Regions from separate parts of the Homo sapiens genome. Here all the other regions are linked to region 3. The links are contacts of gene promoters, found by promoter capture Hi-C in blood cells and fetal thymus (Javierre and others, 2016). All regions are on one chromosome and are shown on one strand. Each heading gives the region's core, a stretch centred on a gene start or on the middle of the fragment in contact. The rest is flanking DNA. Distances are from core to core; before and after follow the strand shown. Region 1 has its middle 80 kb from the start of C1QTNF9B. Region 2 holds the start of LOC105370115 (a long non-coding RNA gene). Region 3 holds the start of SPATA13-AS1 (SPATA13 antisense RNA 1). Region 4 overlaps ATP12A (ATPase H+/K+ transporting non-gastric alpha2 subunit).

Region 1 (6,974 bases), core at 4,096-6,595, 270 kb before region 3:
AGAAGTTCAAGACCAGCCTGAGCAACATGGTGAAACTCCGTCTCTACCAAAAATACAAAAATAGCCAGGCGTGGTTGTGTGTGCCTGTAATCCCAGCTACTTGGGAGGCTGAGGCAGGAGAATTGCTTGAGCCCGGGAGGCGGAGGTTGCAGTGAGCCAAGATGGTGCCACTTCACTCCAGCCTGGGCAACAGAGATCCCGTCTCTACAAAAAGAAAAGAAAAGGTAAATGTGTTTTTAACCTGATAAATTTCCAACCTGTTTTTCCAAATGAATGTTAGGTACAGTGTAACTAACCACTGGCAATAGATGAGTATTCCAGTTGTTCTACCTTCCAGCACTTTGGGAGGCCCAGGAGGGTGGACTGCTTGAGCTCAAGAGTTGCCCAGCCTGGGGAACATAGAGAGACCTCATCTCTATTCTTTAAAAAATTAAAAAGAAAAAAAGTTACTGGCTATTTATGTATATTCTCTTATGAAGGGCCTGTTTAAATCTTTTGTCCATTTTTGATGGAGTTGTCTTCTTATTGGTAAATTGTAATAGTTTGTTTTTTTTTTGAGACGGAGTCTCGCTCTTTTTCCCAGGCTGGAGTGCAGTGGTACAGTCTCAGCTCACTGCAAGCTCCGTCTCCTGGTTCACGCCATTCTCCTGCCTCAGCCTTCCGAGTAGCTGGGACTACGGGCGCCCGCCACCAGGCCGGCTGATTTTTTGTATTTTTAGTAGAGATGGGGTTTCACCGTGTTAGCCAGGATGGTCTGGATCTCCTGACCTCATGATCTGCCTGTCTCGGCCTCCCAAAGTGCTGGGATTACAGGCATGAGCCACCGCGCCCGGCCTGTAATAGTTCTTTATATATGCAAGACACAGGCCTTTGTTGGAAACATGTTTTGCAAACTTTTTTCCCGTTTTATTTTCTGAAGAGGGTTTTTTGAAGAGCAAAAGGTTTTCATTTTAATGAAATTTAATTTATTAATTTTTTTGTTTCATGCCTTTATGTCTTAATAAGAAACTTTCTCCTAACCTAATATCACAAATATATCCTTCTATTTTTTTCTGACTTAAGTTTTAAGATTTTAGTTCTTAAATTTAGGTCTATGACCCATTCTGAGTTAATTTTGTTATACAATAAAAGATAAGGGTCCAGACCCTTTTTCCTCCCATATAGAAACTATTCTAGTGCTGTTTGTTGAAAACACTAGCCTTTCATTCACTGAATGAAAATTTGGTGCTTTAATAAACATGAGTTGACTATGCGTATGTGGGTCTACTTCTGGACTGGACTCTGTCCCACTGATTGTTGTGCCTTTCCTTATCCCCATACCACACACTCTTGATAACTGAAGTATTATAGTCAGTCTTCGTATCAGGTAGTTTAAGTCCTCCAACCTTCTCTTTCTAAAATTGTTGAGCTGTTGTGAGTCCTTTTTATTTTCATATCAAGTTTAGAATTACTTGTCAATTTCTTTCTTTCTTTTTTTTCAGATGGAGTTTTGCTCTTTGTTGCCCAGGCTGGAGTGCAGTGACGCAATCTCGGCTCACCGCAACCTCTACCTTCCGGGTTCAAGTGATTCTCCTGTCTCAGCCTCCCAAGTAACAGATTACAGGCACCTGCCACCACACCTGGCTAATTTGTGTATTTTTAGTAGAGATGGGGATTCATCATGTTGGCCAGGATGGTCTCAAACTCCTGACCTCAGGTGATCTGCCAGCCTCGGCCTCCCAAAGTGCTGGGATTACAGGCATAAGCCACCACTCCCGGCCCCAGTTACTTGTCAATTTCTAAAACAATGTGCTTGCTATGATATTTATTAAAATTGCATCAACTCTATCATAGATTCAGGAAAAATTAATATCTTAACATTATTGAGTCTTCCAGTTCATAAATATGACCTATGTCTCCATGTACTTAGGTCTTTTAAAATTTCTTTATCAGTGTATAGATCTTCCACATCTTTGGTTAAATTTATTCCTGAATATGTTTGTTATTTTGAACGTATTTGTTTTTTTTCTATTTTATTTCCATAAGTTTTTGGGGAACAGGTTGTGTTTGGTTACATGAATAAGTTCTTCAGTGGTGGTATCTGAGATTCTGGTGCATCCATCAATCTGAGCAGTATACACCGTACCCAATTTGTAGTCTTTTAACCTTTATCCCCCTCCCACCCTTTCCCCACAAGCCCCCAAAGTCCACCGTATCATTCTTATGGCTTTGTATCCTCATAGCTTATCTCCCACTTATGAGTGAGAACATACCGTATTTCTTTTTTAAATGTCATTTTCAATTGCTTGCTACTGATATACAGAAATAAAATGTGATTATTGCATATTGATCTCTTATCCTGTGATCTTGCTGTAATCACTTGGTCTAGGAGATTTTGTATATTCCTTTAGGATTGTTTATATACATAATTATGTTGACTATGTAAATAAGACAGTTTTACTTCTTCCTTTACAAACTGTGTTTTTTTTTTCTTGTCTTTTTGAACTATCTTTGTAAGAGTGGATATTTCTGTCTTGTTTCTGTTCTAAGGTAGAAAGCACTTAGTTTTTCACAATTAAATATGATGTTAGCTCTAAGTTTTTTACAGATGCCCTTTTTTAGGTTGAGGAAATTTCATCCTATTCTGAGTTTGCCAAGAGTTTTATCATGAATTGGTGTTGAACTTTGTCAAATAGTTTTTTCCTGCATCTGTTGAAATGATCACATGATTTTTCTCCTATATTCTATTAAAATGGTGAATTATATTATTTGCTTTTCATATCAAAGCAACATTGCATTTGTTGGAGAAACACCAGTTGATCATGGTACTTTTTTAAAAAAAATTGCTAGATTCAATTTCTTAATATTTTGTTTAAAATTTTTGCATTTATTTTCATGAAGGATATTAGTCTATAGTTTTCTTAGTATGTCTCTGTCAAGTATTAAACCAAGGTATTGCAGGCCTTATAAAATGAGTAGAGCAGTATTCCCTCTTCTTTTACCTGACATAGTTTGGGAGAGATGGTTATGTGTTAAAACATAATTTTTTCACTTAACATGTTAAAACTTAAATGTTTCAAAAAACTTAAATATTTCATAAAATTCACCATGAAGTCATCAGAGTCTGGAGTTTTCTCTGTCGAAAAGTTTTTATTTAAAAAATAATTTTTACTAATAGTCTGGGCACAGTGGCTCATACCTGTAAGCTCAGCACTTTGGGAGGTTAAGGTGGGAGGATTGCTTAAGCCCTGGAATTCAAGACCAGTCTGAGCACTGTAAGGAGACCTTGTATCTACAAAAAAAATTTTTTTTTTAATTAACTAGGCTTGGTGGTGTGTGCCTGTAGTCCTAGTTACTGAGGAGGCTGAGGTGGGAGGATCACTTGAGCCCAAGAGGTCCAGGCTGCTGTGAGCCATGGTCAGGCCACTGAAGTCCAGCCTGGGCAAAAAAGTGAGACACTGTTTCATAGGAATCGTAATAGTAATTTGTTGTAGGGCAATCTGGGTCTTCTGGGTTTTTGTGAGTCTGTTTTTGTAATTTCTGTCTTTCAGAGAATCTTTTTTATCTAAATTATTGAACTTTTTGGCATAGTGTTGCTCACAATTTTTTTTCTTATTTTTCTTTTGATAACTGTAAGAACTGTACCAATAATTCTCTCCCATTTCTGATATTGATAATTTTTTCTTTTTCTTTTCTTTTTTATTTATTTATTTATTTTTTTGAGACAGGTTCTAGCTCTGTCACCCAGGCTGGAGTGCAGTGGTGCAGTATCTGCTGACTGCATCCCTTCACCTCCTGGGTTCAAGCAATCCTCCTGCCTCCGACTCTGGAGTAGCTGGGATTACAGGCACGCATCACCACACCCGGCTAATTTTTGTATTTTTAGTAGAGATGGGGTTTACCATGTTGGTCAGGCTGGTCTCAAACTCCTAACTTCAAGTGATCCACCTGTCTCGGCCTCCCAAAGTGCTGGGATTACAAGCGTGAGCTACTGGGCACCTGGCCTGTGGCCATTGATTTTTAATTGACCAGGTTGGCTAAAAGTTTATCAATTTTCAGAGAGCAAGCTTTTGATTCCATTGACTTTTGAGTGTGTCCGTTTTCTGTTTCATTGATTTCCACTGTTACCTTTATTATTTCTTTCCTTCTACTTACTTTGGGTTTATATCATTATGAGATGATCTTGTTTATCTCTAGCACCACTTTTTTCTTAAAATCTCTTTGTGGTAATGCAGCTACTTCAGCTTTCTGATGCTTTCTTATGTTTCCATGGTATGCGTTTTTTCATTCTTTTACTTTCGACTCATTTGTACTTTTGCATTTAAATAGCATCTTTTGTAGACAGCACATACGTTCTTGTTTTTATTAATATATTCCACCTGCTAATCTCTGTCTTTTGGTTCGACTGTTTCATCTATTTATATTTACTTTTTTTTCAGGGATGGAGTTTCTCTGTTGCCCAGGCTGGAGTGCTGTTCACAGGTCTCCTAACATTCTCTATTTGTCTTTTTTTGTTTGTTTTTGAGACAGGGTCTCATTTTGTGGAGTGCAGTGGTACAGTCACAGCTCGCTGCAACCTCAACCTCCTGGGCTCAAGCGATCTTCCCTCCTCAACCACTGGAGCAGCTGGAGTACAAGCATGCAGCACCACACCCAACTAATTAAAAAAATTTTTTTTTTTGGTAGAGATGGCGGTCTTGCTATGTCTCCCAGCTGCTCTTGAACTCCTGGCCTCACCTTGGCCTCCCAAAATGCTGGGATTATAGGCATGAGGCACCATGCCAGCCCTCTGTTTTTCAATTGAATACTTTCTATTGGTCTATCTTCAAGTTCACCAATGAATTCTGTCACCTACATTCTGCTACTGAGCCCACATAGTGATCTTTTATATATTGTTACTTTCTAATTTCCTTTGTATCTAATAGTTTAACAATTGATTATCTTGGGATATAATTATATCATCTTCCAGTCATGATAATTTTACCACCTGCTATGGTTTGAATGTATCTGCTAAAGTTCACGTGTTGGAAACTTGATTCCCACTTCAGTCAGGATCTCTTTGAAATTAAGAAGTGTGTGTGTGAGTGTGTGTGTGTGTGTGTGTGTGTCCTTGCTGCCTGAGGGTGGAGGAAGAAATTGTGAACAGGAATCCTGTATTTGCTTGTCTGTGTCAGGGGAAAAGAATTATACCCCAATTCTTTTCCGCTGATCCTCAAGCCTGGGAAATTTTAAAGGAGATGGGAAACGACCCCGCCTTCTTATGAATATGCAACAGTAAGGGGTTGGGAGAAGGGAGAGAAAAGGCCTGCAAGAAATTCACCCCAGGTCCTCCTGCTCCGGGCTCAGCCCGGGCCCCCCACCGTCCTACCCACGAAGAACAGCAAACAATAGCACAGCCCCGGCCCTGGAAGCCGAGCTAGCCGCAGAGGGTGATGCGGAACTGCTCATCGCCAGGGAAACGCGGCATTCGGACAGCCGTCCAGAGCCTGTCTGAGTTCTGCTGGGCGGGGAGCCAGAGACTGATTCGCTGCGGTCCTGGGCCCAGCGGCTGGGAGGTCCCGCCCTGGCCGAGGAAATGAAGAGGGCGCAGGGCATGGGGGCGGCGCGCACCCGGGACAGTTTCCAGTCGGCTTCTCCGTGACCTTCCTCCCCCTTCCAGCTCGGAGCGGGATGCTGGGATCCCTCCAAGGACCCTCTGAGGACGTAGGAGGGATGCTGAGACAGGCAAGTGGGATTTCTCTACATATTGTCACCTCGCCCGCACTTTTGGAGAAGGTAGAGCCAAGCAGCATTTGGCCGAAATCCTGTGCCCGTGGAACATTTTTTTCCTGAAGTGGGGGGTGAAAGTTGATGATCAGCGGCTCCGGGTAGGAGAAGGGATAGAGCTATAGGTGCGGTGAGGTTAGAGAAGTTGTCATGGCCGAGCTTGCAGTGAGCCGAGATCGCGCCACTCCATCCTCGGCGACAGAGCGAGACTCCGTCTCAAAAAAAAAAGAAGAAAAGAAAAGTTGCCGCGGCCCCAGCAGGCTCAAGGGGTGAGCGCATAGGGGCGCCGGGGCAGTAGTTGCACAAAGCCAGCCTGGCGGTCGCGTTGCCATGGCAGCGGGGGAGGGGCCGAGCCGCAGCGTGGCTGTGTTGCCGGGCGACGGAGGAGCCGCGGGGGAGGCCGAAATCTCCCGGTGCTCAGCGTCACTGCGTGAGCCCCCACTCTGATGCTTCGTTGGTGTGTGTGTCTGTCGGTGTCAATCCACAGTCCGCTGGCAGCCTCTGTCACTTGGTTAGGGAATAAACTATCACCTACTTAATACCTTAATGCTCTGCTTTTGAAAATATTTGGATTGTGGTGTTATGGAAGACATGAACAAGAATAGTACTCCTACTTAACGAAGTTTTGTTTTGTTTTGTTCGTTTTGAGACAGTCTTACTTTGTCGCCCAGGTTGGAGGGCAGTGGCGGATCTTAGCTCACTGAAACCTCTGCCTCCCGGGTTCAAGCGATTCTCCTGCCTCACCCTCCCGAGTAGCTGGGATTACAGGCGGCCGTCGCTACACAAGGCTAATTTTTGTATTTTTAATAGAGAAAGGGTTTCACCATAATGGCCAGGCTGGTCTCAAACTCCTGACCTCAGGTGATCCGCCCGCCTCGGCCTCCCTAAGTGCTGGGATTAGAAGCTTGAGCCACTGCGCCTGGCCAACAAAGTTTTTTAAAAAATACGTTGTATTTCCTCGTTTTTAAGGTAGCATCTACTGATGGGAGTTCCTTAATTATCATTTAAAAAGTAAAGTACAGAACCAGATTTGGATCCACGAAACGAATTGTTCCTCAGCTTTTCAAACATACTAACCAAAAACATTTGCAAAAGAAAAATATATAAAGCCGGTAGCAGTACTAAATATTAGGCCCAGCACTAAAAATGCAGACAGTTCTACTGTTGGAAAGATGGCGACTTTCACAAAGGACTAGAGAGCATCAGCCTCATTTTATTTCTATGGGTAT
Region 2 (7,150 bases), core at 3,404-5,903, 300 kb before region 3:
AGAAGTTTTCTCTGATCCAATCAGAACATGTAGTCCAGAAACGTCATTTGCATAACCTCAGTATATATATGTAATGCTGAAGGCAGCCCATTCTCTGCTTTGCCTTGTCTTCCCGAGTAGCTGCTCCATTCCCGGCATAGAGGATCAGGAGAGGGGACGCCACCTGCCACACGCTGGATGCTGGGGTCCGCACGACTGCGGCTTGTGTCGCTGTGGTTGGTGGTGGTGATGGAAACTGCAGCGTGGCTGGAGTGGTAGGAGCAGGGAAATAGTTTTGGGGTAGATGGAGGAGTAAGGGGGTGCTGAGTGCCAAAGGGAAAAGAAGATGGCAGGGCGAGCAGGAGAAGGCATTGCAAAAAGACGGTGGGGAAAATATGGTGGGAAAAAAGTGGGTAGATGGAGGCAGAAAAACAGGGTGGTGAACAGGAGGGAGAGCTTTTGCAAAAAGATGGTGGGGAAAAGATGGTGGGTAAAAAGTTTTTCAGCCAGATGCGGTGTCTCAGGCCTGTAATTCCAGCACTTTGGGAGGCCAAGGCCGGCAGATCACCTAAGGTCAGGAGTTTCAGACCAGCTTGGCCAACATGGAGAAACCTTGTCTCCACTAAAAATACAAAATTAGCCAGGCATGGTGGTGCATGCCTGTAATCCCAGCTACTCAGGAGGCTGAGGCAGGAGAATTGCTTGAACCCGGGAGGCGGATGTTGTGAGCCGAGATTGCGCCATTGCACTCCAGCCTGGGTAACGAGCAAAAACTGCATCTCAAAAAAAAAAAAAAAAAGGTTTTTGGGTAGATGGAGGGGGAAAAGTGGGTGGCAAGTGAGAGGAGGAAAGGGAGGATGGTGAGGGGGTGGAAATGAGGTGGAACAGGAGGGAGAGAAGGTTTGCAAAAAGATGGTAAGGGAAAACAGAGTAGGAAGAAAAAGACAGGTGGGGAGAAAGATTGTGGGTAGATGCAGGGGGGAAGAGGATGGCAAGTGGGAGGAGAAAAGAGGGTGCTGAGAAAGGACGGTGCTGAGGGAGGGGGAAGAGAGGATGGTGAGCAGGAGGGAGAGAAGGTTTTGCAAAAGGATGGTGTGGAGAAAAGACTGGAGAGAAAAGTTTTTGGGTAGATGGAGGGGGATAAGAAGGTGGCAAGCAGGAGAGGGAAAAAGTGGGTGGCGAGCTGGAGGGAGAGAAGGTTTTGTGAAAAGACAGTGGGCGGAAAAGAAAGACCATGGAGAAAGAAAAGACAGTGAGGAAAAAGTTTTTGGGTAGATGGAGGGAGGAAAGAGAGTGGCAAGCAGGCTACAGGAAAGAAGAGGGTGAGCAGGAAATGGGGAAGGCTTTGTGAAAAGAGGGTGGGGAAAAATTCGGGGGGTAGATAGATAGGGAAAGAGAGTGGTGAGCAGGAGTGGGGAGAAAGCTTTGCAAAAAAACGGGAAAATGTTTTTGGATAGATGGAGAAGGGAAAGAGGGTGGCAAGGAGGAGGGGGGAAAAGACAATGGGGAAAAGAGGTTTTGGGTAGCTGGAGGGGAAAAGAGTGTGGTGAGCAGCAGGAGTGGAGAGAAGGCTTTGGGAAAAGACAGGGGAAAGTGTTTTTGGGTAGATGGAGGAGCAAAAGAAGGTGATGAGAGCAGGAGGGGCTGGCCAGGGAGCGGGGGAAATGATGATGGGGAAAAAACGGTGGGGAAAGTTTTTGGGTAGACGCATGGGGAAAAGCATAATAATACCATCACCATTATTTGTGCAAGCCATTGGAGTGAAACTATCTGCATCATTGTATTTGACGCTCATAAAAACCCTGTGAAGTTGGTCTGATTATAATTTACAGACAGGGAGGCTAAGGCTTAGAAATAAAGTACTTTGCCCTGTATTCTCAACTGCTTCTCTCAGGTGGAACTAGGGAAAATCAGCATGCAGAGGTGTGACCTGTGATCTGACTCAGCCTTGCGTGGTTTGGAGTTTGTTGCTGTGGTGTCTGACCGTACATGCCAAAAGGCACACCCTGCATTGTATCACATCAGATTTAATGTTCCTTGCTGGCATTTTTGCTGTTAAACGTTTTTCATTGCTCTTTAAGGAAGGGCATTTAGTGAGGAGGAGGCTCTTGGCATTGTCACTCACTTAGCTGTTTTTCTAGATACCTAGAAGCTCTTTTTATGTTAAAAGTTTTAACTTTTTAAGAATTTAAAGAATTTTTGAGTTAGGAGATTATCCCCGTGTGCACTTTAAAACAGTGACCCAAGTGCTCTAACACCTAGAGGACTTAAATGAGGATTTCCAGCTGGTTGTGGCAAGCTATTGGTGGTGGTGTTGGCATAAAAATGCAACATGTGCTTGCTGTATTAGTAATTCATCCATATGCCCACTTCTCATTTTTATAGAAGGCTGAAGAAGTGCACATGTCCAATCAAGAATATTAAGGAAGAGTGAATTGGAGAAAGTACAAAATTGAACATACAAGTATGTAAGAAAAAAGCTGTTCTCTCTCATAGGCTAAATGTGTTCTTAGAATGGAAAATGGCTTGTAGCTAATGCTAGAGAAACAGAACAAACAATGTAGAATCACTGATGAAAGTTAGATTTACTAATTTATTTTATTTTATTTTTTGACGATGGAATCTTGCTCTGTCACCAGGCTGGAGTGCAGTGACGTGATCTTGGCTCACTGCAACCTCCACCTCCCAGGTTCAAGCGGTACTCCTACCTCAGCCTCCCGAGTAGCTAGGACTATGGTGCATGCCGTCACGCCCAGCTAAATTTTGGATTTTTAGTAGAAACGGGGTTTCACCATGTTGGCCAAGATGGTCTAAATCTCTTGACCTCGTGACCTGCCCGCCTTCGCCTCCCAAAGTGCTGCAATTACAGGCGTGAGCCACCATGCCCAGCTGAAAATTTATTTTTAAAAGCCCTTGAGTCGTGCCAAAGCTGTTGTCTCTCTTTACCCATTTGTACAGCAGAAGAGAAACTGTCTTTAAAATCTGTCTGCCTGGATAAACTCAAAGGAGCCTTTACAGAAAGGTAAATGAGAAATCAAACATTTGTATGATCTAGGCGCATAGATGATTAATGTTCGCATTGAGCCTGATGTGGATGGATCTCCACAATGTGTGCTCACCGCAGGGCTGGACATGGGCCATCCTGTTCTGTCGGGGCTTCTGATTCGTCCCCTTCACTTTAGAGATAAGCCTCCTGACATTGTTATTTAGACTCACTGCCTCTCCTTCAGCCCCTCCTGCTCACACATCAGTCTCCGGAACCCTGCCTTCCATAACTTCGTTGTTTTCATGACAGTTTAATAATTAATTTTATTCCTGGAGAAATGTTGTTCAGGGGGATTGCATATGCTCTTCTTGTTAATATAGAAAGATGGATGAATCAACCTAATTACTATACAAAAACAAATGAAAAGCTTATTAAATAAATGTTCTTATTATACTATATGTGGAAATGTACCTATAGTTTAGTATATTTTTTCTAATTTAAGAATAAGATATATACGTGTGTGTATATATGTGTATGTATGCTATAAACCTCTCATATTTAAATATGGATCACAGATCTCACATAGTAGGAAAGTTCTTTCAACTTAATTTTATTTTATGTTAAGACTGTAGACCACTGTTATATTAGAGTGTCTGTATCATAGCTAAGTTATATTTTTCAAAGTAAGCCAGTCTGTGGCTGGCTGTTCTTAGCTGGCAAAGGCCGAAGCTAATTCTGAAGCACAGGGCATTTTTGTTAGCAGATTGTCCTGAGTGATGGAAATTGCACTTGGGATGAATGCCAGTTCATCTGGATTACCTAGAATTCCTTGGAGGCCATGGTGGAAAGGATCAGCTGCTCTCTGAGAGTGGGAAACACTCTTACTCTCAGTAATTCTCTGTTGTGTGCTGGTGTGGGTCAAATATGTAAGACGCGTCGTATTTACATTTGCTTTGACTCAGCTGCAGAGAACCCAAGCCCCAGTCCCACCAAGCAAATCTTCTCCAGGTGGACAGCATATCTGAAATGGCATACAGGAAGGGAAAGGATGACAAAGGGTCTGGAAGCTCTCACTAACGTCACAGTCTGCCTTTCCTCAGCTTCCTTGTTTTTAAAATAAGGGCTGGAGAGACATGGCAAATAAGGGCCCTTTTAGTATTAGCATTTCAGTCTTTTTCTGAAGGTATTAGGAGAGAATTAATGATTTATCACCACCTCCTTCATTACTTCTGTCAAACTCTGCTAGAAGTAAGGGAAAGCATCCTTTCTTTGTTTCAGCACATTCACACAGACTGGCTAATGAGACCCCACACTGAAGAAGCCTAGAACTTCCACAGACTCCCTGAAATCTAAGTCCTCATTTTTAACATACAGCTTTTAATACTAGCTTCAGAAGTCCCGGATCCCTGCAAAGGTAAATGTTTTATTTTCTATATATTCAGAGAAACCATTCTCTGAATCTGTGCATTGCTCCTGGCAGGAAGCAAATGTCAGCTCATTCCTGTGTAATTGATACGTGACATCTTAGTTTCAAGGTTCAGCCAAAGTACTTACTAATAGATTTTAGATGACAGCTATGGAGCTTTTTCTGTCATCCTTCAGTGGGAAAATCAGAAGGATAGAACTCTTGATGTTGAGTTTTGATGCCCTTATGGTAGTTTTGGAGAGAGAAAGCTCAAAACAATGTTAAGAAAAAAATAGAATACATACATATGAATTACGTTTTACTTATCTGTTTAATGAATGCAAATTTGTTGATTTGAGAGGTAAAGTGACTTTTAAATCATTTTTATAAAATTCCGTTAAACTGAGGATTATGTATGAAAGTACCAGAATGATGCATGGGGCACAGTCACTCAGCAAATGTTAATACCATTTTTTATAGCATGTATTTGAAGGGCGATTATTTGTAATAATCTCAGGAACATTTGTCTCTTCATATGAGCTGCTGTCATGCAAATAAGGATAATCAGACTGTCTTAACTAAATGTTGGCTAGTTTCACTCAGGGTTTTCTTAGACTAGGGTTTGGTGAAATGTAAGAGCTCTGAAGATGAATCATCCTGTTAATGAGAAAATAGACTTGGCCTAGGTAGCCCATTGCATTCTTTTTGGTCTGTTTTCCTTTAAATTCAGGTTTTTTAAAAAGCATAAACACTAATGTCATCAGGTGGTTTGGTCTTGAAGCTGTCCTTGTAAACTCTAGAAGTCATGGGAAACATGAGGCATGTAGTAGGTGTTCCTTAGATTTGCTCAGGCCAAGAGCTCTTTAGAAGTAAAATATGTTTTACTCCTTTAAGGGATAGGCCTGCCTATCTCGGTAGTTAGGAAAACTTGCTAGTGGTTGTTACATTTTCACAAGAAGCTCTGCACAACAGAGCCTTATCTCCTGGCTTGGTAGCTGAGTCTCCTCTTGATAGTTTCCAAACAGCTTAAAATGCAGGGCTGTGTTAACTGCTGACGGTGTGGAGAAAAGATGTTTAACCAGGCCAGGGTGACAACTATCACTGTTTATATTCTCAGTAAAGTTTTAATTATGAAAAAGGATTTGTGAAGTTGGTCAAGCCATAGCCAATCTGGTGTGCTTTGAAAGACTTTTGTATGTATGGTTCTATCAGGGAAGAGGGGCATCTTAGGATGTGATGTAGGCCCAGGACTCCATAGGCCTGCTATTGAAGCCAGCCTGGCAAACTGGGCAATGGCAAACCTTTGCTGCAGCCCTCCACCTTGTTTAACCAACCTCCTTGGGAGTGTGACCTGTAACCAGGTGGCAATGTTCTGTTTTAGCCTCTGCCATTTTACAGTGGTGGCCTGGGTGCAGTCCTGACTTAGGGAATGAGTCCTTTCTGGTTTGATATCTGCTTGACCTTTGCCATTTGTTGATTCTCTTCCCCTCCACAAATCACCTTGAATTTTCCTTGCTCTGAACATCTAGGAGGTTACTTTTGGTAAAGCTTGAAAGTCAGAAATATTGGCCACGTGGCGTGACTAAAGTCAGGTAATAAGGAATTTAAAAGGCTTTTCTTAAAGAGTGCTCAGCTTAATTAAAAGGGAATATCCAAGTTACAGGTATGTTTAAAAGGCCTTTATGTTTTTCTCTTCCTGGATCTTGTTTTGCTGGAGAAAGGTTTTTCCTCAATCAACTGAATTATTTTTCTCCATTTTGCCTTGCCACTTTTAATGCACGTATGAGAGGCCCTAAGATAATTTCTCATGGCCTGGGACTCCTTGGAAAAAAACAGAAAAGTTGCCATTGATTCCACTGTGGGAGAGACCTCTGTTTTCCTCATGGAGGCCCAGGAATTAGAGGAGGATAAATCCCTCTCAAAAATCTGTTTTTGTCTTCCAGCTATACCTGTTTATTAGGTCCCTAGAAACTGCATGCTTTCCTAGTCTTGCTCTTAAAGGGCTCCACCTAGGGGCCAGTAATCCAATTGGGAGATTGGCAAATGAAAAATCCTATAGCTACTGGATCTTCTGTGTAGTTATACATGTGTTGTGTGTGTGATGTCTATGAAAAGCTCCAATTAGTTGACCCTAAGAAGGGTAATCACTAGCATCAAATATTTTTAAAGGGGAAAAAAAGCTATGGTACCTTTTGGTTCATGTGACTTTAATCTTTGAGAAATAAAAACAAAGATTATTGGTAAAATGCAAATGTCATCAAAATGTAAATTCTTTTTTCCTGGAGTTAGATTGCTTTGAACTAGATAAAATGGTTTAAACAAGTTATGGAAGATTTCTAAAAAATTAATCTTGCAAAAGAAAATCTGTGTGTGAACGTTGACTAAATTCAAAAGGGTTATAAAAGGTTTTTGCTTTTTTTTTTATTTTCTTGAGACAGAGTCTTGCTCTGTTGCGGAGGCGTGGTCTCAGCTCACTGCAGCCTCCACCTCCTGGGTTCAAGCAATTCTCCTGCTTCAGCCTTCCTTGTAGCTGGAATTACAGGCACACACCACCACGCCTGGCTAATTTTTGTATTTTTAGTAGAGATGGGGTTTCCCCATGTTGGTCAGGCTGGTCTCGAACTCCTAACCTCAGATGATCCACCCACGTCTGCCTCCTAAAGTGCTGGGATTACAGACATGAGCCACTGCACCCAGCCTCGTCTCAATTCTTAAAAAATAAAAATTCTATTACATCATTACAGCTTTTGTAGAATAAGAGTAGTTTACAATCTTGGACT
Region 3 (7,385 bases), core at 1,001-3,500:
TTCTGAGGGCTGTGAGGGAGGGTCTGCTCCAGGCTGCTTTCCTTGCGTCTGGTGCCCTCAGTGTTCCTTGGCCTGTAGGAGCATTGCCTCATCTCTGCCTTCATGTTCACATGGCATTCTCCCCTGTGTCTGTCTGTGTTCAGATTTCCCCTTTTTATAAAGACACCAGGCTTACTGCATGTGGGCCCAACTTAGTGACCTCATCTTAATGTGATTATCTACCTAAGACTATTTCCAAATAAGGTCACACTCATGGGTACTGGGGGTTAGGACTTCACCATCTTTTGGGGGGACACAATTCAATCAAAAACGTATACCATGTTTGTAACAATATGCAACGTGTACCCATATGGCAGAAGATTTTGAAAGAACAGGCAGAAATAACAGTAGCATTGTTAGGGTGGTAGGAATGTAGAGCACTTCTCCTCCCACCCCGTACCTGTGTACACACAGCCTTTCCCTGCTTTCTGTAACACTGGTTTTTGTTGTTATGTTAAAAATGTTTTAATTTTAGCGTTCTTTTGTCGAAAAGCAACAAAACCTAACTCTGGCTGTCTTAAGCAAAAAGGGAATTTATTGGAAGGGGGCCAGGTGTGCCCAGAATTGATGGGATGGCTGGGGAACCAGGCTAGGGAAGGGATGGCATCCAGGCTCACTCCTGGGAGTGGAGGAGCCACCGGAAGGTGTGTGATGGGAGACTGGCCATGGCACTGTCCCAGGAGCTAGTGAGGTATCCAGTGAGCACTTTATCTGGGTATCCAGTGAGCGCTTTGAAAATACAAAACATTTAATTAAAGACCCTATCTTGAAGAAGTGTATACTTATTTGGGGAGGAGTTATAATAAGGAGTTAACTTATTAGGAGTTAGTGACTGTCTTTCTGTCACTCACCCAGGGGTTCAGGTCCCAGGATGGAAGATTCAGCTGTCCGAGCTTAGGTGATATGTCCACCACCTGGTGGTACTGGAACAGGAAGAAGGGTGGGGTGTCTGTCTCCAGGGACCCTTGCCTTCTATATGTGAAGACAGGCCAAGTAAGTATTTAACAGAGCAGACAGTACTATAAAGAAAAATAAAACAGGATAGAGAGCATTCATTTCCAAAGAGTGTTATTCTAATGACACTCTAATGAACAGGATGCACCTGTTCCATGAACCCTCTCTCTCTTCCCTAGAAGGAGACACCCAGATCCTCATCAGTGGCAGCAGACACCTCCAAGTCTAGGACCTCTTAGGATAACTAGTCCTCCAGTTCCATGCAGTGCCTCTTCAGCGTTGATTAACTAGAGGCAGATTTAAGCAACACATCCCTACCAGAATGGCAAGGCAGGGAAAGGAAGGAAATAGAGAATTTGGGATGCTGTGGAGAATAAAACGTCATGCAAAGTTTACATTTCAGCATTTGAACAGATTCCATAAGTCAATATGTAGGATGCACCAAGGCACCAGTGACGGCCCTGCAGAAGATGACTTTGGGTAATGTGAGGAGTAGGAGCAGGTGGGGGAGATAGCCTCCTCTCCAAGGAGGTGACGCTGGGGACAGGTGAGTAGGAGGCAGTGAGGCAGAGATCCGAGGGAGGAGAAGTCCTAGCCGAAGGAGCACCAGAAGCCCAAAGACAGGCAGGAAACATGATGTGTCTGAGGTTCAGCAAGGAGGCCACAGTGACAGGAGCTCAGGGAGCAAGAGGCAGACGAGGATGTTGCAGGCTGGGAGGTGGGCTGAGGCTGGAAAGGGCTCTGCAGGTCATGAGGAGGCTGAGCTTGTTCTAAGTGTGGTGTGAAGCCATTGGCAGCAGGAGCATATTATGTTCCGGTTTATGCTTAGAGAGGGAGGGCAGTTTGTGGGGGGAAAGGAAGAGGAATGGAGATTGATTTGAAGGCGATTGCATTAGTCCATTTGAGAAATATGGTAGCAGTGACCACAAAAGCCATCCCCATTTTCCGTGGGTGCTCATTTTCCCAGTGGTACGAAGAGGCAAAAATGGCCAGCCTTGGTTCTGATTCACTGTGGCCAGGACTGTGAACTCTGGAGGAAGTACTTCTCCCTTGGGCACTAAATTCAGTTTCAACAGAGCAGAGTTCCTAGGTGGGAAGAAAACATTTTGCAAGTATATTATTAAGTAATCCTAAGAAGCCGCTTCTATGTTTACCCTTGGTTTCCGGCCCTGCATCTTCTGCTGTGGGCCAGCCTCTCCAAATTAGTCACTGCTTCAGAGCTTGCGTCCCATCCAGGGCAGTATGGCAACTTCTGGGTGTGTCTCCCAGCTGCCTCTGTAACTTCATTTTTATTTGGTTGTTATTGGGTGTGATGGGGTCATGTGCTTCCTTCTCTGTGACGTTCTGGGCCTGGATGGCGTGTGAGATGCTGCGACAGGATAGGGGCCTTCTAGAGGATCCACAGAGTGCAGGAAAACAAATCCAAGCCCAGCATAAGTGGCCCTTCCAGTAGGGACAAATCACCACCCCCTCTATTATGAAAAGGCCCCACTGCAATCAGCTTTCCGCAAGGGGCTGTCTGGTTCCTGCGGGGAACCGTATCATCAGCTTTGTTGAGGGGAAGGCCCAGACTTCCTGTGGTTTAGCCCAGGCTTGGCATCCATTTTTGCCACCATGGCCTTTTTCTTGCTTGCTTCTTTTTTTTTTTCCTTTTTATGAACCCACTGAGCAAGTATCAAGATGACTAGGAAGGAAGACTGGCATCTAGCTGCACATTGGGACAGCATGTCCACATGATGATTGATTAGCCTCTCTTGCAATAAGGATTCATGTAGGATGGACATCATCTCATGCTCTGCGGGTATTCTGAGGTAGCCAGTTATACTCCTTCCCCAAACCCATCCTCAGCCCATCTTGTTCTTTCCACATTCCTCCAGGCCATTCAGCCAGGCCATTAGCTCCTAACCAGGAGTGCGCACGAGCTAAATCCTTGCCTTGCCAAAGCCATCTCTCCTACTCAGAAAGGCTTGGGAAGAGTATTGCTTACATTTGCCGCCGGGAGTTTCCCTGTCCTGAGGACACAGTCACCAGGCTGATGGTAGGAGTTCTCTTTGAGAAGCTAGGAAGAAGACTTGTAGTAGGATGCCTACCCTGAGGCTCCCTGGCTCTGCTCCATCAAGAGGCCTGAGTCTGGGAGTTGAGTGAGGGCCCTCCCTTGTCTTCTCTGTCATGGTGGCTCAGGTCGGGCTCTGCTTGCCAGCCCTGGAGAGTTCCTCCTACACAATGTTGTGGTACCTTTGTGGAATCACTCATCTGTTTTGTTCCTGGGGACCCCGAGATCAGTTAACAGCACAACCAGAGATTTCACAGGTCAAACCATTCAGATGACCAAGCTGGCCCTGCTGTGTGGTATAGTAACTATGCCCACCTTTTTCCCATGACAGATGTCCCACCCCCATGGAGGACCAGGTTTGCATTGCAGTGGAACCATCTCTCAGCAGCATCTCTGGCCTAGAGAGATTAGCAGTACATTAATTATAAAAGCTGCTGTCACATGGGAGATGCAGCCCAAGGGGTGGTGAGACTCACATGATAGACCATCTCTAGCATTTCCATCCCAGTCCTGGAACTCCTTCCTTTCTATGCACTGAGGGTTTTAGGTTTATATACCAACGAAGTGCTAGAATGGCATCCAGCTCAGTAAGCCCACAAATTGAGCTCAGCAAACCAGCTGTAAAAGCATCATTTTGAGACACGTTGGGGAGATTTTCAGATGAACTGAATATTTGGCAACATGAAGGAATTATTTTTAATTTTGTTAGTTGGGATAAGATAGTGCAGTTATTTTTAAGTCCTTGTTTGTTATACACAGATAGTGAAATACTTTCTGCATAAAATATGATATGTGAGATTTGTTTTAAAATACTCCAAAAAAGTTGGTGGGAAATAGTTGAAACAATATTGGCAAAAGACTGATAATCGTGGGTTCATGGTATTATCTGCTTTTGTGTGTATTTGAAATTTTCTGTAGTATCAACTTTTAAATAATAATGAAAGTATATTTCTCCTCCCTGGTCAAGTATTCTCAAAATCTTGATAACCAAAGGTTGGTAAATGGATATAAAAATAGAGCTAGACAGGAAGAATAAGTCCTACTGTGCCACAGTTAATGACAATGTATTGTATAGTTCAAAATAGCTAGAAGAGAGGATTCAAATGTTCTTAATACAAATAAATGATAAGTGCTTGGGGTGATGATATGCTAATTACCCTGATTTGCTCATTCCACATTGTATACATATATTGAAATATCACACTGTACCCCATAAATATTGTACAATTATTATGTGAGTTTAAAATAATAATATAAAAAACTCTCCAAATTAAGTAGTATCCACAACTAAATTTTTCTCAAAATATAGAAAATTGAACATTGCATTTAATTTTTTTTTTTTTAAAGAAATGAAGGCAGAGTCTTTCTAGGTGAATGGAGCCCTCCCTTCCGAGAACTTGGCAGCGCCGTGCTGTGCTCTTCCTTTCTCTCACCACTTTTCTCTGGCCCTGTTTGTAGCACCTGTCTTACCTCTTGCCAGCCACACAGCCTGCGAAGGCAGGTCATGTGGGACAGGCCTGAGTCATGTTTGTAGGCTACTGGGTGTGTTATTTGGGATAATAGAGTTGGGATAATGAATTTCAGTGGCACTTATTGGAGCCTTATCGGAGGGAAGAGTGACAACCTGTAAACACCACTGCATTGTTGGGGATGGTGTTTGTGGCTTCACCTTCCTTGGGTTTCAGGAAGGATGCCCACACTGCTAGAAGATTTTCCTGGGGAATTATCTTTGCCGCCTTTGCTTTGCTTTCAGTGAAGCTTTTCTCTTTCATTTGAGACAACTTACTCCATCACAGCCTACCTAAGCTCCTAATTTTTTTGTACTTAACATTGGGTTCCAACCATACTTCTTCCTTTAACCGGTCTGTTTATGTTGATCAGAAGTCAAATTCGAGTGCTTTTCAGAATTCTTACTTTGAATTTCCCTTTGTCTCTATTATCCATTCCCCTTCTCTTTCTACGTATCTTGTCCAGAGTTCAGATTAGCTTGCTTTTCTTATCTTCCAGAGAGGAGAGTGTCCAGTTTACTTCGCTGTTAGACTTGAGTGGGAACTTCACAGAGACAAGCAAAGGACGAATGCACACCCGTGCACCAAAGTCAGTCGATATGGGTAGACCCCTTTCAAAAAAAGATACCTGGTCTGTTACATTTCTTGAAAGCCCTTTAGTTAACCAGTAAGTACACCGTATTAGAGCATTTAGTAATACTGCCAGATAATAAAAGAGGAAAGTCAAGATGAGGTACAATAATAGCTAGATATAAAAACTAGAGAAAATGCCCTTTTTGAGGGGACACAAACTTGGCAAGTTGACTTGCTTTAAAAAATGTTTCTAACTTACTGAAGTAATTGCTCAATTTGATTTTTTAAATTTTTACTTTTTTTTTTTTTGGCAAATATAGTTCTTTTTTTGCAAGCTAGAAAAGAGAAGCAAATTGACCCAGTCTAGCACTCTAGTGAGCTAGGCTGAGTCACTCATTCTTTATCAGAGTGATACAGTAATACGAATTGCTAGCAGGCAGGTTGTAAAACTAAATCATAACCACCTATCCACATTTTTCATTAGGAAACAACCAAAAATTGAGTCCTTTAAAGGCAGGTTATAAATAAATAACATCTTGATCTGTGAAGGGGACAGCATGACCCAAATTTTATGCCAACCAGCCTGTCTGAGAAGCCCATCTGAGCTGGCCAGTGAGTGGTGAAGAGAGGAGTGCTTTTGAAAACGTGCTCTGAAACGATAAGAATTCTGGATTCTGGGCAGGTGTGGTGGATCACCTGAGGTTAGGAGTTCAAAACTAGCCTAACCAACATGGTGAAACCTCATCTCTTTCTCTACTAAAAATACAAAATTAGCTGGGTGTGGTGGCGCATGCCTGTAATCCCAGCTACCTGGGAGGCTGAGGCAGGAGAATTGCTTGAACACGGAAGATAGAGGTTGCAGTGAGCCTACATTGCGCCATGGCACTCCAGCCTGGGCAACAAGAGTGAAACTCTATCTCAAAAAAAAAAAAATAAAAAGAACTCTGGATTCTGCCTGTCAATAAGAAAGCAAGTAAAAAGTGTCACAGATGTGTGAAATTGGTCCTTGTTTATACCGGAGTTTACCATGAGAATGAAGAGTTCATCTCAAAAAAAAAAAAAAAAAAAAGGCCAGGCACGGTGGCTCATGTCTGTAATCCCAGCACTTTGGGAGGCTGAGGTCGGCAGATCACTTGAGCCCACAAGTTTGAGACCAGCCTGGCCAACATGGCAAAACCCCATCTCTACTAAAAATACAAAAAAATTAGCCAAGAGTTGTCGTGCGTTCCTGTAGTACCAGCTACTCAGGAGGCTGAGATGGGAGGATTGCTTGAGCCTGGGAGGCAGAGGTTGCAGCGGGCCAAGATCGCACCACTGCACCCAGCCTGGGCAACAGAGTGAGACCTCCTCTCCGCTAAAAAAAAAGAGAGACTGAAAAGTTAGAGATATGAGTGAGGAATAAGATACTTAAATTTTGAAAATAAATGTCTTAGTGATAAATCCAGCATGCTACATTTCCCCTTTTACCACAAGAACAAACAAAGGACTATTTTAAAAGAAATGCTGAGTTCTAAACAGAACACTTTCTACCACAGAAACAGGTCCTCTTCCCCGTACGATCAAGGTTACTGCTCTTCCACTACTCAGGTCCACGTCAGGAGCTTTGTCAGGGCAGGAAATTCATAAAAGGAGAGCATATCCTAGCTAGCCACTGGGGAGCAAGGTTAGCATCCTTGGGGTGGACCATCCATATGGGTAAGCTGTAGTTTTGATAAGAATCTGCAGGCTGCCCGTGAGCATCTCGTCTCATGCCTGGCCTTGTGCACTCTGAGCTGGGTGCTGGGCCTCCCAAGAACCCCTGGGGCCCAACAGGCACGTGCAAGTGACCCTGCAGGAATGCTGCTACCTCCTTGCTAAGCCCAAGAGAACGGGGAAGACCACAGCTCCCAAAGGTCTTAGGGAGTCTTATGGGGGCTCTTCTTGTGAACAGATCAGTGCATCTTTCTGCTGCTGTCTGCAGGGAGGGGGCAGAGCAAGGGGCTTCCACCCACGTGGCCGCCAAGTGGAGCCATCCCCACCTGCCATCCCCAAAACAGCCCCCAGAGCCTCACTTGCTTTCTTACTCTGGTAGATGTTTTCTGCACAGGATTGAGGCTGGTCTGAATAAAGAAAAAACAAAAACGTACCAAGACATTTTCCAGTGAGTTTAAGGCTCAGTGGTTTCAAAGTACAATTGGGGATTATCATTCAGGGGGTGACATTCTTTCCCTGTCTACTGCTCTGGTTTTTTCTGTTTGATTTTGTACTGAATGTATACA
Region 4 (7,338 bases), core at 2,714-5,213, 460 kb after region 3:
GGATCACCTCACAGATCATCATTGGTCTGATCCTCTCCTATGGCCTCGGAAGTGTCACAGCCTTGAGTTTCACCATGCTTAGGTGAGTTCACCCTCAACAGCATGGAGGAAAGAGCCAGCCTCTGCTTTGAGCTGTCGCAGCCTAAATAAACCTGAGGATTCCCAGGGTTCTTCCCCAAGTCTTTCAAAAGACGTCAAACTGATCCCATGCTCTGTGAGCCCAAAGCTTTGATCTGCATTTTCCAGAAGTGGAAATGGGTTTTCTAGACCTCACCAACCGGCCTTCATCCTCATCCAACAGGTTGCTTCAAAGGCAGACATTGCTTCTAGCAGTCACAGTGCAGGTTAAACAAGGAGCTTTCCACCTTTATTTTGTGGGACCTCGTGGATTTGTCGTTCTTTGCAGTAAAGCAAGACAAATGAACGAGAAGCCCCATTCCCATTGGGCAGGGTTGGGCTATCCCTGTGGATGAGTCAGGGTTCACTTTCCATCCCTTTGCTTCCAGGGCTCAGTACTGGTTTGTGGCTGTGCCGCACGCCATCCTGATCTGGGTGTATGATGAGGTGCGGAAGCTCTTCATCAGGCTCTACCCTGGAAGTGAGTAGCCTATGATTTTAGAGGCTCTGTTTACCCACTTCAACAGACTCTCCATTTCTGATGTACTTTTTTCTACCTCTACAGGCTGGTGGGATAAGAACATGTATTATTAAGACCACCTCCCTTCCTATGTCTCTCAGCAGCACGTTGGGGCACACTTGTTCATCTTCTGACCGTTTGCTGGGCTATTCCCCTGCAGTGCAGACATCGTCAAAATTCAGACAAGAGGAAATTTTCATGCAGAAAGCTGTATGCAGGATGCTCACTGATGTTTTGCACTTTAAAACTGAAATTCAACTCTTTATATAGGATTTTCTTTTCTATCTCCATCTCCTCATTAAAAAATACGTACATTTCGAGGTAATGGTATAGGGAAGAATGTGTTTATGTGTATTTGAAACTCCTTGATGTTAATAGTCTTGTGTAACCCAGGCATCTACTGGGGCCTGCCTTAAGCTCTAGCTAGGATTGCTCAGAACTCCTTTCCACACCCTATTAAAGGCCCCATGACCTCCCTAAGATTTCTGCAGATCCCCTGAGAAGGTATGTTTTCATGGTCTCCTTGCTCGAAAAAGGCCAACTCACCCGAGGGTCTGCAGGAGATGGAAGTGGCGGCAGGTTTACATCACAGCAGCACGCATGACCTCAGCTTTGACTCGTTTAACTCTGAGACGTCCTTCTTGAAGGCCCTTGCCACAGTTTCCCTGGCCACGCCACCCCATCCCACCTCTGGTCATCTCCCCAGCCCTTTATGCCCCGTCGCCCTCCACCCCTACATCAGCTCCTCCAAAACTGAGCTCCCAGTTCATTTTGCATATCCTAACTCAAAATGCTCAGCTAATCCAAGGGGACTTTCTTTACCAGGATTCAACCCTAGTAGAGAGCTGTTATGGTTTCAATAGTCATATTTATTTCTTGTAAAACAGTTGCCAGGTGCTCTCCAGCAATAACGTTTTGTCAGTCATGTTTCATGTTTTAACTTAGGTGTATTCATGTGTGACACTTCCATGTTGACAGGCCCGGAAAGGCCTCATTTTTAACTAAAAGATGTTTTATAAACCCAGGTTTAATTGTGGTGTTCTAATTGGTTCACATTTTTCTAGAATGAAGAGCATGGGACAAAAAAATAAGATATGATTTCCTATTTTCTTTTCGTTGCTCCTTCTGGTCATTTTACTTATCTGTGGAAGATCTGGAAATGTAGGATTTTTCTTTCAAACTCTTCCTCATGACCCCAGGGCTCCAGCCAGGGCCTCTGATGTGCCCTCGATTCTTGGTCGGACGCCTGTGGGAGGGCCCGTCTTTCTGCAGCAGCACTCGAGAGAAGGGTTCTACAGCCTTTCCATCAACTGCACACCTCGCACTAACTCATTTGACAGAACGTGAGAATTATGTTTGGTTAAGCTTTCCTCATCTAGTGGCCTGCCCCGTCACCTCTCTCCATTACAGTCTCACTCGGGGGCATCTGGGGCTGATGGCTCTAGGTTGGCATCTCCTGGACAGGAAAAGGCAGCCTTAGAGTCACCATGCTCTTGGGGTCACATGTAGGAGCAGGAAAGAGGGAAGGAGACTATCCTTGTAACTTTATGTATATAGATTCCAGTGCATATTGTGTGCAGCCATGTAAGCTAAAATAATGTTGCTGTCCTCAGGAGATTTGTAATCTGTGTTCAGCCACAATTATCATTGGACTAATCTATCAGTAGTTCCAGTGAACTGCAAACACTTCCCAGAGTGGTTTGGGCAGTGTGGTCATGGCTTTCTCGTTCCAGTCTCGACAAGGCAGCTAATGCTTTCTAGACTTCAGCTAAGAATAACTTGACCTTACTTAATCTTTCTTGACAGGCTGCCTGAGTGCTCATGGCTGCAATGCTTGGCAGCTCTTGGTCCTGCCAATGCCAGCAGGACAAGGCCATCAATTTAGCACAAAGCTGCAAGGTTTAACTTGGGGTTGGATTAGGGTTGAAAGGAGTTAACTTGGAATTAGAAGCCTCTTCATAGCAGGAACTATGTATGAAATAACGTTCCTATTTGTGCTTATTTACTCTTGCAAAAAGTTGACACTCAAATATTTATAAAATTAACAAATAACTAACTTAAGAAATCCCAGAAAAGACACTAGCATTATTGAGTAGCTTTATTAAGTTGTAGACAGAAAAAGGCAATAAAATCCATTTCAGAGGGTGTTTTTGGAGGGACTATTTAATTGACCCTCTGAAGCCTAGATGTCTTTTATTATAGGAAAAAAAAATGTCAATTTAAATCTAATTGATGTGGTAGAGTATCTCAGAGACATAAACATGAGGCTGAATTCCTAGAGTCTTTGCTTTTTAAAACAATCTAATTTATTCTGATTATAAAATTGCAGCTCTAAATGAGCTATTTTCTTAAATAGAAAATTTAGAATAAATGAGATTAAAAAGTAAATTAAAATCACCCTGAATCTCACTATGTAGTCATATACCTAAATGAAAGAGTAATCATTTCTTTGGAGTTTTTCCACACATATATTTATTTTTAGGTAAAATTAAATAAAGTTTTCAATTCTGCCTTTTTTATTTAACATCAAAAACATGGTGTTAATGACTGCACAGTATTGTAGATTGAGAGTGCTTTCGCTAACTATATCTGCACGGTGAGATAGCTCATTAATTTCCTACTAGGCATCTTTCTCAAAAAGGCTGCATCTTATCCTCAATATTGTACCACACATCTCCATTTTATAGAAGATTCCTCAAATTGGAATCAAGGCATTCAGAGCATTCCTAAGGCTCTGGCCACACATTGCCTAATTTATCTTTAGATAAGCTGTATCAGTTTACACCCCCACCAGCAATAGAAAAAGAATATTTATCTTGCCTATCATTAAGATGTGAATGCTCAGTCAACCAAAGAGCTTTCCATAATTCGACAAAGATGTAGGAAGTGCTCCTGCATGGCTTGAGAACACAGCCCAGAACAAGATAGAGCATGGAGCCAGTACACCAGTAGAGGGGTGAAAGGAAAATACAAATTGTGATAAGGTCTTGAAAAGGCATAATGGGGCTTAGATAATCAGGTGGCAGGATTGAGGGCAGTCAGCTAAGTCCTTTTAAATAGGGTAGTCAGAAAAGTCCTTTTTGTTGTTGTTGTTGAGACGAAGTCTCACACTCTCGCCCAGGCTGGAGTGCAGTGGCACAATCTCAGCTCACTGCAACCTCCGCCTCCTGGATTCAAGTGATTCTCCAGCCTCGGCCTCCCCAGTAGCTGGGACTACAGGCACCCACCACCACGCTGGGCTAATTTTTGTATTTTTAGTAGAGATGGGGTTTCACCATGTTAGCCAGGCTGCTCTTGAACTCCTGACCTCAGGTGATCCATCTACCTCGGCCTCTCAAAGTGCTGAGATTATAGGCGTGAGCCACCATGCCCGGCCTAGCAAAGTCCTTTTTGAGGAGATGAATGCAAAGAAGCAGACAGAATGACAGGAAGAGGGAACAGCATGAGCAAAAGCTCTGAGAGGTCAGAGGGGCCTAGCAGGAACACACAGCCAGGGAAGACCTTGGAACGGGGAACTGGAGGGACAGGCAAGAATCTCACCCTAGAGGGGTTCAGAGACCAAATGAAGGAGGTTGCATTTAATTTCAAAACAAGCTATTAGGCCCAGTGCAGTGGCTCACACCTTTAATCTCAGCACTTTGGGAGGCTGAGGCAGGAGAATCACTTGAGACCAGGAGTTTGAGACCAGCCTGGGCAACGTAGGGAGACCCCATCTCTACAAAAACGAATAAACAAGCTATTGAAGACAATTAATAAAAGAGGTGACCTGATCCAGTTGACATGTTCAGATCACTTTGGCTTCTGTGTAGAGGATGGGAGGCAGACCAGGCTGTGGTAACTGGTGTGTGTACCTTCAATGGAATACACAGACTCAATGGAGGAGTTTCTTAAGGGGGGTTGCCTCTAGGTGACTCGAGACATAAATGTTCAACTCAGGCTCCTAGAAAGGCTCACAACCACCCTGACTGCCCACATCACAATCAAGATAGAGACAGGAGATGCTCAAGCAGGTGTCATCTCGCCAGGAGTCTAGAACAAGATATATGTCTCAATGTACACGGCTGCACTCCTTAAGAGCCTGGACAGGTGCATCTGACTCTACAAAGATCATGAGTTCTCCACATTTGTTCATTCTGCTATCATCATTCCACTGGTGGCATCTAATGTCTCTTAAAAAGACAGTGGCTGGCTGGGCGTGGTGACTCACGCCTGTAATCCCAACACTGGGAGGCCGAGGCGGTCGGATCACAAGGTCAGGAGATCGAGACCATCCCAGCTAACACAATGATACCCTGTAACTACTAAAAATACAAAAAATTAGCCGGGCGCGGTGGCGGACACCTGTAGTCCCAGCTACTCAGGAGGCTGAGGCAGGAGAATGGCATGAACCCAGGAGGCGGAGGTTGCAGTGAGCCGAGATCACGCCACTGCACTCCAGCCTGGGTGAAAGAGCAAGACTCCATCTGAAAAAAAAAAAAAAAAAAAAAAAAGACAGCGGCAATCACTGATATTTGTTAAGTATCTATTATGTTCTGGGTTCCTAACAGCATGATCTTATTAACGCTCACAACGGCCCCGTCAGCTGTGGCATCAGCCGTGCTTTACACTCAGGAAGTTAAGCCTAGAGGCCCAGTGACTTCCTGGCACTGTGACCTCTCCTGACCACTAAGAGGCTCCACTGTAGAATCTGGCAAGTGGTTTAGGGAGAGTTTGCCCTTCGATGGAATATAGATGCCTCTAGAGCATAGCCTGCAGGTGTTGAGTTCTGTCTTACAGCTCTGCAGGTTACTGATAACTGAGAGCAACAGAAAGTATTTCTATAGATATGCAAATGAATCCTACCCAGTGGGTGAAGATCTTTCCTCCTTGGAAAAGCCAGTTTTGCTCCCTTTGCACAATCAGCCAACATTCCTGATTCCAGATAAAAGCGTGCCTCTTTGCTCCTCTCAGTAGATTTTAACAACTGCCTAGTTTCCTATTTAAGTGGTGAGCTTTAAAAAAAAATCTTTAATATGTGTTCACTGTTATATCTGTATGAAAAAATTATCCTTACACCATGAACAGAGGAAGAAGAACACAATTCCCTCCTCATTTAGGGTCCTTCTCAGCCCCTCCGTGGAGCTAGGCACCCAGCCCGTCCGAGATCCTGAACCCCCGCACGCTCCAGGGCCATTCTGCTATTGGGCAGGGATGCCGTTTTTTTCTGCTTCAGACCAGTTCTCTCAGCAAGCTCCTTCTTCCCCGTCCCCATTCCTACTTTCCCACCCTCCCCTCTGACATACCAGAACCAAGCTTGGGGGATTTTATCTTCTTGGTCCAGAGGTTCTAAGATAAAGTTAACTGGAAATTTAAGGTAAAAGCCTGATTAATTTTAAAGGGATAGAAGCTGCCCTCCTCAGACTTGCTGTGCAGGTAGATAGAGATTCGGTGGAGTGAAGCACTTCAATGCAAGAGTTTATTTGTAGTTTGGGGGATTTCTTTTTTTCTAATTTTTTTTTTTTTTTTTACATTTTCTATTTACACAAAGGGATTTCTTCCACTCCACCCGCACCCGCCGCCTCTGCTTTCAATCTTTTTTCTTTTCTTTTCTTTTCTTTTTTTTTTTTTTTGAGACAGGGTCTCACTCAGTCATCCAGGCTGGGGTGCTAGAGTGAGTGCAATGGTGTGATCTCAGCTGCAACCTCTGCCTCCCGGGCTCAAGCCTCAGCCTCTTGAGTAGCTGGGACTACAGGTGCACTCCATCACGCCCAGCTAATTTTTGTATTTTTTGTAAAAAAGGGGGTTTGGCTATACTGCCCAGGCTGGTCTTGAACCCCTGGGCTCAAGTGATCCACCCACCTTGGCCTCCCAAAGTGCTGGGACTACAGGTGTGAACCACCACACCCAACCACTTTCGTTGTTTCAAATTTAGCACCTGCTAGGTACACAGCACAGTGCAGAACAATGCTGTGCTGGTCTGAGAGGACAAAATGACGCAATAGGGAAGACCAGGCATGTTTGCAAATAAACTGTCAATCGGGGCAGGATTTGGCCGAGGCCTTGAGAGGTATACAGTGCTGTGGGTTTCCAGGGAGACCATCTTTGGTGGGCAACAGTGGAGGGTGCCAGGAGGCAAGGCATCCAACTCAGCCTTGAGGAGTAGGGTTCCAATTGCAGAGGTGAAGCAGAGGAAAGGGCAGGGGCCAAAGATGTGCCCAGGTTGGTCACAGCCATGTCCCTGTGAGCCAGCTCCCTCCAGGACAAAGTCAATGTGGTGCAGAGACCCCATGACCTGGGTCTAGCATTCCACTTGGTATTCCTAGGGGGGCTGCAGTATCCATTGACCAAATCCCTACAGACAGAAATAAGATTGCCTGTGGGAGAAGAACTCTAATCAGCCCAGCAAGGGCTACATTAGAGATCTGCAGAAAGCCACCTTACACAGGAGCCAGGATGCTAAAGGCTGTCCATCAGAAAGGGGCTTATGTAGCCATAGAAAAAGATGTCCTTCCCAGCAACACGGATGCAGGTGAAACTATTACCTTAAGCAAATTAATGCAAAAACAGAAAATCAAATACTGCATGCTCTCACAAGTAGCAGCTAAACACTGGGTACCCACGAACACAAAGATGAGAGCAACAGACACTGGAGACTCCAAAAGGGGGGTGGAGGGAGGGAGGAAGGGAGGCAGGTATTGAACAACTACCTACTGAGCAGTATG

Evidence for each region. The method cuts DNA at HindIII sites, captures the fragments that hold promoters and counts their contacts. A CHiCAGO score of 5 or more calls a contact.
Region 1: a contact is called between a fragment that was not itself captured here and the fragment with the promoter of SPATA13-AS1 in region 3, in 2 of 17 cell types (naive CD8 T cells and activated CD4 T cells). The highest score is 6.4, in naive CD8 T cells.
Region 2: a fragment that was not itself captured here is called in contact with the fragment with the promoter of SPATA13-AS1 in region 3 in 2 of 17 cell types (activated CD4 T cells and total CD8 T cells); the score reaches 6.1 in activated CD4 T cells.
Region 4: a contact is called between a fragment that was not itself captured here and the fragment with the promoter of SPATA13-AS1 in region 3, in 1 of 17 cell types (naive CD8 T cells). The highest score is 6.1, in naive CD8 T cells.

The regions. Positions count from the first base shown.
Region 1 is chr13:23,974,222-23,981,195 of GRCh38, forward strand. It overlaps a transcript of SPATA13 not described here. Among named protein-coding and RNA genes, the nearest start is that of C1QTNF9B, 80 kb to the left of the region's middle. The HindIII fragment of the contact is 2,603 bases long and covers 4,045-6,647 here.
Region 2 is chr13:23,954,360-23,961,509 of GRCh38, forward strand. It overlaps LOC105370115 (a long non-coding RNA gene), which reads left to right and starts at 93. Exons shown (of 5, transcript XR_941753.2): 1 at 93-254; 2 at 2,938-3,001; 3 at 4,244-4,379. The HindIII fragment of the contact is 2,526 bases long and covers 3,391-5,916 here.
Region 3 is chr13:24,252,189-24,259,573 of GRCh38, forward strand. It overlaps SPATA13-AS1 (SPATA13 antisense RNA 1), which reads right to left and starts at 2,251. Exons shown (of 3, transcript NR_046531.1): 1 at 2,148-2,251; 2 at 891-1,011; 3 at 561-768. The region is part of intron 4 of SPATA13 (spermatogenesis associated 13); the gene reads left to right. The HindIII fragment of the contact is 5,552 bases long and covers 1-4,802 here.
Region 4 is chr13:24,710,812-24,718,149 of GRCh38, forward strand. It overlaps ATP12A (ATPase H+/K+ transporting non-gastric alpha2 subunit), which reads left to right. Exons shown (of 23, transcript NM_001676.7): 21 at 1-82; 22 at 507-598; 23 at 683-1,661. The coding sequence ends at 711. Among named protein-coding and RNA genes, the nearest start is that of ATP12A, 34 kb to the left of the region's middle. RefSeq lists enhancers at 1-507, 5,091-5,735. The HindIII fragment of the contact is 3,927 bases long and covers 2,001-5,927 here.